3 separate regions of the Homo sapiens genome follow, and all the other regions are linked to region 2. The links are contacts of gene promoters, found by promoter capture Hi-C in blood cells and fetal thymus (Javierre and others, 2016). All regions are on one chromosome and are shown on one strand. Each heading gives the region's core, a stretch centred on a gene start or on the middle of the fragment in contact. The rest is flanking DNA. Distances are from core to core; before and after follow the strand shown.

The links. The method cuts DNA at HindIII sites, captures the fragments that hold promoters and counts their contacts. A CHiCAGO score of 5 or more calls a contact.
Region 1: a fragment that was not itself captured here is called in contact with the fragment with the promoter of INO80D in region 2 in 2 of 17 cell types (naive CD8 T cells and total CD8 T cells); the score reaches 8.3 in naive CD8 T cells.
Region 3: a fragment that was not itself captured here is called in contact with the fragment with the promoter of INO80D in region 2 in 11 of 17 cell types (non-activated CD4 T cells, neutrophils, fetal thymus and 8 more); the score reaches 11.8 in non-activated CD4 T cells.

The regions. Positions count from the first base shown.
Region 1 is chr2:203,933,369-203,936,416 of GRCh38, reverse strand. LOC101927840 (a long non-coding RNA gene) reads left to right here. Exons shown (of 4, transcript XR_427213.4): 3 at 216-309. Among named protein-coding and RNA genes, the nearest start is that of ICOS, 1.9 kb to the left of the region's middle. The HindIII fragment of the contact is 1,448 bases long and covers 1,031-2,478 here.
Region 2 is chr2:206,084,519-206,087,455 of GRCh38, reverse strand. It overlaps INO80D (INO80 complex subunit D), which reads left to right and starts at 1,282. Exons shown (of 11, transcript NM_017759.5): 1 at 1,282-1,555. It overlaps INO80D-AS1 (INO80D antisense RNA 1), which reads right to left and starts at 2,801. Exons shown (of 2, transcript NR_186084.1): 1 at 2,708-2,801; 2 at 1-1,499. RefSeq lists enhancers at 1,026-1,135, 1,146-1,195, 700-1,519, 1,246-1,535 and silencers at 1,586-1,795, 1,876-2,045, 2,066-2,265, 2,306-2,355, 2,257-2,551. The HindIII fragment of the contact is 4,007 bases long and covers 190-2,937 here.
Region 3 is chr2:208,249,811-208,252,934 of GRCh38, reverse strand. IDH1 (isocitrate dehydrogenase (NADP(+)) 1) reads left to right here. Exons shown (of 10, transcript NM_005896.4): 3 at 1,368-1,505. The coding sequence starts at 1,384. Among named protein-coding and RNA genes, the nearest start is that of IDH1, 3.7 kb to the left of the region's middle. The HindIII fragment of the contact is 3,792 bases long and covers 1-3,124 here.

The sequences.
Region 1 (3,048 bases), core at 505-3,004, 2.2 Mb after region 2:
TCTATCTTATGCTAGGTGCTCCAGAGATAAGAAAGCCTTTGAAATAGGACAAGAAACAAACAAAATTATTATAGAAATTGAAGTGAAAAGATCTGAAAGAAGAGCATCATAGGAATCTGAGAAATGATATTTATGTGGCATTCATTGTAGATTGCAATGTTTCAAATGATGGGGTCAGTTTTAAACTAACTTAAACCCTGCTCCTCATATTACAGCAGAGTCTGTAGGAACCAGGGATTCCTCACCTACGGCTCAGTGAGACCAAGAATGTTTAAAAGCCTGCCGTGGTCTCCCCATCCCTGCAGGGAGGTAAAGTAGACAATAACAACAATAACAATAATAATTACATAGATAATTATATGTATATGTACTTAAATGTTTTATATGAAATAATATATCTTAATGCAAAATGTAAAAAATTAAATGTAATATATTTTATATATAAAATATACCTATTTTTATATATGAATATAGCTAATATTACATTTATATTATGTTTTATATGCATGTAAATGGTTACTGTTTGTATATATATTTACATTATAACTATAGTTTATACATACATTAACTCATTTAATCTTCTTAATCATCCCAATGGTGACCACTAATCTCCCATTTTACAGATGAGGAAAACTGAGGCACAGACAGGTAACGAACCTGGCCCAAGTCATATAGTAAGTGTCAGTGCTATGATTTAGAGAGTCTGGCTCCAGAGTCCTCACTCTTAACCGAAGCAGGTAGAACCACCAATACCAAGGCCTGCTGATCCCTCCATCCAGAAGTCTGAACGCGCTTCCAAGATGCTAGATCCAGGCTGGACTTCCCTTAGCCTGCAGAAATGACATTTAGATGAGAAGCTGAAATCAGCTGGCCAGGGAAACCAAGGTGTGAGTCCAAAAGGTCCAGGCTCTGAAACAGATTCCAGGTTTGGGGCTTTAGGCCAGCCACTAGGAATGCCAGACCACAGCCAAGGGGTCTGCAAGGTAAGGAGGAGGCTGATCCTGCAGGGATCCCCCTAGCTGCTGAAGCTTCCCCTAGCTACCTTCTGTAGGGCTCCTGGGTCTCAGCAGTGGGTGTGAAGGAAGCTGTTTGAGGGACTGAGCTAGCCTGAGAAGTAGAGCCTGGGCTGCCAGGACCCCTGGGACCTTGCTACCCCAATCTCCTCCCTTTTCACTGTACTCCCCGTAGCATCATGAGGAAAGGCTTCCAGCCCCACCGGCACTGTGCTAGAGTCCTTTCCCAGCACACAGGCAGGCAGTGGAGAACAATTGACTTCTTCCAACCTAGGTGAGGCCTAGCTCTGGAACTGAGTATGGGGAACTTTAACTTCACTTGAGAAAAGCTGTCATAAGTTCTAGAGCTCAGGGCTGTTGCACAGAGAAAAATACAAAGCAGAAACCTAATAATAAATATGCAATGAGGACATAGTGTGTGCCAGACACGGGGCTCCACGTGCATTGTCTGATCCCGTTCTCAAACAACTCAGCGAGGGAGAGTCTGTTACTTATTCTCATTTCATAGATGAGAAAACTGAGAGTTAGAGAGATTCAGTCATTTGCCCGGAGTCACAGAGCTGATGAGCAACGGAGCCTGTTCAAATCCAGACAGTGAAACTCTGGATTCCAAACTCTTAACTACCCCACCACACTCACACACTTATCCTCATTTATTTGGCTAGAAATTACTGGAAGCATTACTTTTTTTGGTCTCCTATTTTCATGGTGGAAGGATACTTAGGTCCTAGAGGAAATTCCAAGATAATTTGAATGCAAAAAAAGATGTCCTGGTCAATTGGAGGTGTAATGTTTCTACCTCAAGGGGAGAAAAGTTGCACAAGTTATGGTTAAATTCAGCTTTAGTTCAACTGGATATGTGTGGTTTTGTTTGATATGTATCTCTTTGCTTTTTCCCAACCCTCTCGCTTCTCAGTTTGTCAGACACTGGGTGGTAAATTGATCCGATAGTGGAGAAGAGCTCACTTCTATGTAAACAATGTTTTATGTCAAAGTCCTGTTTCAATGATCCTTCCCATGCCTCGCCTTCTCAAAAATCTTGGTCAAGAATACAAGTACTTGTGGTTTAAAATATTCAGAACTGCTTTCACGTGCCTGGAAAATTAACTGGGCAAAAATTTCCATTCACCTCACAGGAAGTGCTTTTAGTTTGCTTTTAATTTTTTTTCATTCCATGACTTAAGATGGTTTTGATTTGTGTATGCAGACGCCTGGGGTGAGGGTGGGGCATGGAAAGTTGGTTACATTAAAAGTGTTTTTTATTTCTTGCCTCCTGGGCACCAGAGTTCATCATGCAGCATGCTTGCTTTTCTGAAGGGCCGTAGGTGAATGTCTTTCTTTTGCTTTGCTTGCAACTTACTGAAAGCAACATTTGTCTGAGTAGAGGAGCTCAGACACCAGCATGGTTGAGTCCAAGCAATAGGGTTAGAAAGTAACCCCCAAATATCTAGGCTTCACCTAAGCTTGGTTTGCCATTCTGAAAGGGACAAGCATCAAAAGTGAGAGGTCCTTCCTAATCACAATTGCTTCAACTCCTACCTTGCCTATACTGTTGAGTGGTACCACCAACCAGCCTTCTCCCTTTTCCTGCTGATTCACCGATAAACCCCAATTACTCTACTTCCTAACTGTCTCTCAAGTATTTTTTCCTCCTCGCTTGCCAAGGTCACTGACTTAGATCAGGCCTCTGTCATTTCTATTCCCACCCTTGTCCCATTTTGGTCTGTCTTCATGCTACAACCAGAGTAATCTTTGTAAAATGTAAATAGAATTCATCTGTGTCCCCGCCCCACCCAGGATCCTCCACTGGCTTCCTCTCTTAGGTAAGGCCCACACCCCTTCAAGATTCCTTATGAAGGGCAACTCCTTCCCCAGTTCGGCCTCATCTCTTGCCACATTTGTTCTTTCTTCCTTCTGTACCAAATGTTTCCATCACGTTGAATGACATGAAGTTCTCCAAATTCCCCAAACTAACTCTTCCTTCTACTGCCAGGAGCCATCATTTTGTCTGTGCTTCCCCTCCTCACCACTCTAG
Region 2 (2,937 bases), core at 33-2,532:
TAGAACATACAAAGATAGTCGGTTCTTTTTCTATTATTTTTCTCTTTCTTCACAAAAATAGAAAAATGTCTCTGCAATTTATCCTCCAATAAGCGTTCTATTGGAATCGATGTAAATGGGTACCCTTTGTCCCTCTCACCTCTGTGCTAACAGCATTGTTTAACTCTGATCCCATTTATCTAGTAAGCTTTGCTCATTTAAAAAAGTAAATTCATGACATCCACTGCAATATACAAAAAGTCTATCATACAGGCTGGCAGCACATTGGAAGTTCTGAACTAACATAACTAACAAAAATAGCCACATTTCTCAATTCTGTGACACAAAAAGCAGATAGCAACATGTGTAATGCACCAAAGATCTAGCTAGAGTTTAAAGAATCTAAATAAATAAAAAAATTAAATGCCCGGATATAATTCTTAATAAGCTATTTTACCTCAAGAAAAATCTAAGGCTGTCTTTAAAATCTCTTTCCAGTTTTACTGTATCCTTTCTGTATGGGCAGCATAACAGAATTTCCAGAAACAGGGGCCGTTTTTAAATCCCCAGTGATAGCTGCCTTTATCTGCACTGTGGAAAATGACACACTGTATCATGCCTTTCTGGACAGTCCATAGGTTTTATTTACATTGCTTTGAGAAACAGACGAAAGACATGTTTTTTTACAATTGTCTTACAGCAATCTGTTCTGAGAGTAACATGTAACACAAATTTTTATATGCAATATATGAAAACATAAATATTTATATATACAATAACATAACCAGACAAATAAATGAAGTTACTATTAAGTCTCTTTAAGTATAAATTTACAAACTGACCACCAGCCACAGAACTTAGCCCTGTAATGGAGAAAAATTATTACTGGCTTAAAAAAATATTAAAATATCACTGTCACTAACATGAAAAAAATTAAAAACAGAAAATAAAAAACAATAACCACCGGAAAACCTGTGTCTTGTAAAGATTTCTTTCCATCAGAAGATGCAGAAACATTTTTCCCCCTGGAGCAAATGAAAACGTTTCTCATGCACCCCCCGTTTCTTCCCTGCTTTCTCCCCCAGGCGCGGGTGTAGACGGCCGGTGTGGACTTTTTTCCAGAGATGAGAAGTAAAAATTTGTACTTTATCGGGAGCGGGTGCACTTTTCCCCCTGGCCCCCCTTTGCTCTGCCTCCAAGATGGTAGGAAAGTTGTCGTTTCGGAGGGCAGAGGAGCAGCTCTCTGGTGTTATGTCCTCGCAGTGCCTGTAGTGGTGCTGTAGGAGGCTGCTGCCTCTTCTTGTACAGCCCCGGCAGCCCTGCCTTCTTGGCTGGAGAGTATATTCAGGGATTTCCCCTTAATAATCACCGACCCTGGGAGCACTTTTTAGTTTCCAAAATAAAAATATGATCCTCACCCCTCTTGCTTGACAGGGAAAGGCTCTCGCCGGAGCCCAGGGGGGAGCAGTAGCAGCGGCAGCCGAGCTTCCTAGTCCATTGCCAGCGCCTCTCACTCTGATCTGTCAGCCCAGCCGAGGGAACAGGGGGGAAGGAGAAAAAAAAAAGCAGCTGAAAGGTAAGCAGAGGCGGCCCCAGGCCCGGCCCACATCCCCGGGCTCCCGTAGGGCGGCGGGCTGGGCCGCGCAGGCTGGGCGGGCGGCGAGCGCGCTTACGTGAGGCCGGGGATTCGCCGGCCCACGCCAGGCCCCGGGCGGAGAATGAAAGGGTGAGTGGGGCCGGCGCCCGGGTGGTGGAGGCCGGGGGCCTGAGGGCCTCCGGGGCGCCCGCGGGCGGCGACGGCGGGCGGGCAGGGGTCCAGCCGGAGCCGGAGTGGGGCGAGCGGAGCGGCCTGCGCGGGCCAGGTGGGGGTGTGCGGCGGGAGGGGGGGGCGCCGGTAGGCCTCGGGCCGGTAGGCCCCACGGCAGCCGCGCCCTGCCCCCGCACCCCGGGCCTCCGCGCGCCCCCTCGAGTCCCCCGGGGTCTCCGGGTGGGACGGCGGCGCTGCTGGGCCGAATCCCGCGCCGGCCCGGAGGCTTTCCCGCGGGGCGGCAGGCCCGGGCTGCCGGGACAGGGGCGTCAGGGCCTAGGAGTGGGGAGTGGGGAATGGGCGCCCGGCTCCCCTTCCCCCGGGTCTCTCGCAGACGGCCCCCAGATTCCGGTAAGAGTTGAATTTATTTATCCCCCTCCTCCGCGCTCCGGACGGCCAGGCCGGGGCGGGGCGGGGCGGGCGGCCTGGCGGGCGTGGGGTCGGGTGGAGGGGCGGTGAGGAGTCAGGTGCAGCCGCGGCCCAGAAAGTTTCCTTTTAGGCCCGAACTGGGGGCCGCTGTCTCTCCGGGGAGCCCTGGTCCTAGCGCCCGGGACCCCCCAGGGCGTGGGGGAGCGCACTCGGCTATTTTGAAACTCTTTGCCAGTTCCTGTCCATTGAAGAAGGTACTCCGCCCCTGCACCCCTCGCCCGCGCCCCACCCAACTCCCCGCGAGCCCATTCGGGGCTGCTAACTCCAGCCCCTTCCCCCTAGAGCCCCCCAGGTTGGGGAGAGGGCCTTCTCTTCCGGTTTGGAAAAGTTTGCAAGGGGCTTTTCTTAGCTTTATTAGTTAGTGACTGGGTTTTTGGGGTGGGAAGGAGGAGGTAAACTCAGGTGGTGTTTCTGCCGGACAATCTTTCCCTATTGCCTTTTTTAGCCCTTACCCCACCAACTGGGGGTGTTATTTTCAGCTTGAGTACCCACCCCCTTTCATCCCGATTCCTTTGGGTCCAAAATCCCCCTTCTGGACAGCTCCGGCGGAGAGGAAGATGTAGGGAGCAGCGAGGAGACTGTCAGTGAGAGGGGCAGGATCAGGCAGGGTTTCTGGAGCAGTCCCCAGATGTAGGAGTTTCCCCTCCTTTTTGGTCACTGTCCGGTAAAACCAACACCGGAACAGATCCCAAGGGGGAGACGTGGTTGTCAGATGGCTTGGA
Region 3 (3,124 bases), core at 241-2,740, 2.2 Mb before region 2:
AATGGGAAGTAATTGACTCATCCACACCATTCTGTTCATTTCTTTTAGTCTAGTTCAGTTCCAGAAGGTTCCCCCAAAGGAATCTCCTAAACACTAGTAAGAAGAATTCTAGAATTGCGAATTTGGGAAGTGAAAATGGGCCTGGGGATTGGAAATACATCCAGGCTTGTCAAGAAACAGACGCTTACTGTCTACTAATCATTACATTTTTATTTAAAGACCAAATTACTTTAGCTCAATTTTTCAAGAAAGACTATTTTAGGCTTCTTATCTAATAATTCTTTAAAGTCAATTCTCTTGACTTTTTTAGTCCTTAAGAGAATAAAAGCAATTTGCAGCTGTGTTGTTGGATTAAAAAAGAGTTTCGATTAGAGCATCATTAGAAGGAATAGATAACTTTTAGCAGGCTCAGAGCTTCTTCTGCCTCTAGGGACAAGCTGGGACAGTTTCATTTCTTCCAAAGCGTCCAACCTTGCACTTTCTGAGAATCAGATTGATTTGTATATGCTACCCCCACACCCTATCCTTAAAGTGCTGTCTTCCTAGGACAATGCACAGTTTGTCCTATCCCACTCACTAGCAGCTTACCCTTGCCTGTGAACAGCCAGAAGAAGATGACAGGGACATGCTTGGGTCCTGGGCAGTGGCCCTACTGTATAGAGATTCTTCTAATTGAGAAATCACTTTGTTGTATTTAGCCCCACATCTCCAATGTCTGTGTTATCTCTAGGAAAACAGTTCCACCAGGAATTCTTCGTCTCGCTTTTAGACTTAAAGTTTCCCTGAATATGGGTCACAGGAACCAGCTGAATCTCCTCATGGCTAGTTATTTTTATTAAATAACAAAAACAGCCTCTTAAAGGAGGAGAAATGCTAGCACTCACCATTCTGGACATCTTGAGAGCCCAGTAAAATGATGAGTTGGACTGAAGTGTTCAATAAACATGAGATTGTGGAAATAATCTCATTTCTTAAGACAAACCAGTAGTTGAGAATAATGATTGCATTATGAAGGGCACGTTATAGGGTCAGGCTCTGCCACGCTCTAGCTAGGTGGCCTTGGGAAAGCTCTTTTTTTTTTAACAAAGTAAAATGGGGAAATGATGGCCATTTTTTTGGATTGTTATGAGGGCTAGCTCAGAAACCGCGTGTGAAACATAACACAATACTTTGTTCAGAGAAGATACTCAATTCTAATGGTAAATAGAATTGCTGTTACTAGCTTTTTATTCAACTACACATAAATTGAATTGCATGAATTGTTCTTTTAGTAGTCACTACGTTGTTTATATAAACACTACGTTGTTTATATATTTCACTTTATAATGAAATAAATGACAAGGCATGTATTTTTTTTTTCTTTTTAGGTTTATTGAAGTCAAAATGTCCAAAAAAATCAGTGGCGGTTCTGTGGTAGAGATGCAAGGAGATGAAATGACACGAATCATTTGGGAATTGATTAAAGAGAAACTCATTTTTCCCTACGTGGAATTGGATCTACATAGGTAAATGAGTTACCCCTCCGTGTAGCAAACTCAGAAAGGATAATCTGGCTGGGCATGGTGGTGCACACGTGAAGTCCCAGCTACTTAGGAGGCAGAGGCAGGAGGATCCCTCAAGACCAGGAATTCAAGTCCAGCCTGGGCAACAGAGTGAGACCCCATCACTTTAAAAAAAAAAGGAAAAAAAAGGGAAGGAGAAACAGGAAAAAAAAAAAGAATATAATCTGAATTATTTTGAGGTGAAGTTAGCTTTTTTTATATAGATATAGCTGTGTTTTGTGAATAAAGTTTGTTTTAAGCCTAAATATATTCAGATGAATCTTCTAATTTTAACATACTGCTAGAAAAACTGGATTTATCATCTAAAAGTCAAGAATTATAAGGGAAAGAATGATTTTCAGATTCTTCTAACCTTCTGTTTCCTGTGAAGGTTTTATTTGTAATAAAACAGTGGCTAAGAATAGTACAATGTATTGAGAAAAGGGAAATAAGAGAGGATGTAAGAAACAGTAAACTAAATGCAGTTAACACAATTTTGTCATTTCAAACTCAATTTTCTATCACTTTACTTAGTCAATGGACCTGTTTCCTTTTCATGCCTCACCTTTTGCCCTTTTCATACAATTGTAGTGCAGAAAGAATTCATGATGTTTCTTAGTTGAACCCCTCCTTTCCAGCAAAATTCCCTTAAATCCTGTGTCCCTTTGCCCTGTGTGTAAAGTGCCTGGGGACAGATGCAAAAGTCTATGTAATTCTCTCATTTTTTTCGCTGTGTTTTTCATAAACTTGCTTCTGTTCTTTGTACCTTTAGGTAGAGATAGAATTTTTAAAAGGGTAAAGTGGCTGAAGACTGGCATAGAAAAATATTGAGCAACACGTTTCAGCCAAACTATTGGCAACTCTAAGTGTGTTTGCCTCAGCCCAGAATTAGTCATCAAAATTTGTCCTAAGGACCTGTTTGAGTGGAGACATTTAATTCACATAATGTCATTAAACATACTTTTTAATTGTTCTAAACCTAAGCTGCTGATGTCTATATTGAAATCATGATAAGATATAAATACTTGCAGAAGTCAACCAAACATAAGAAATTAGGCATAAAAACATCTTCCAACTAGGTTAAAAAAAAAAAGCATCTTAGGAACTCCTGTTTCAGGACTTTACATGACAGTAGGTGAACTGGCAGGGTTCTTTTCCTTATAATGGCTGCAACTAAAGATGCTTTGAGCCTCTTTAGTGTGGAATCATGAGGAGTTTTAAAGGGGAGTCACTATGACTAGGAGGAAAAAATTTGGTGGCTGCAGACTAGATAATTTTTGGAGGCTCAAACAAGTTTTAAATTTTTCCAAAATTCCTATTATTATCACTGACTGGTTCTTTTTCAGGAGAATGGAGCAGGTAGTTTGTTTTATGTAGGCTGGACAGTGGTCTGGGCAATTTGTTCCTTCCTTTCTTATCTTCTTAGAAATGTTAAGAAGACAAGCAAAAAATCTAATAATTTGCTGATAGATTCTCCTTATGAGAAATGGTTCCTAGGAACTTGAAAACTACTGATCATACTTCCTGTTGGAGTTGGGATTGGATCAACATTTCCTATGCAAGAAGATAACAAAGGACATGAC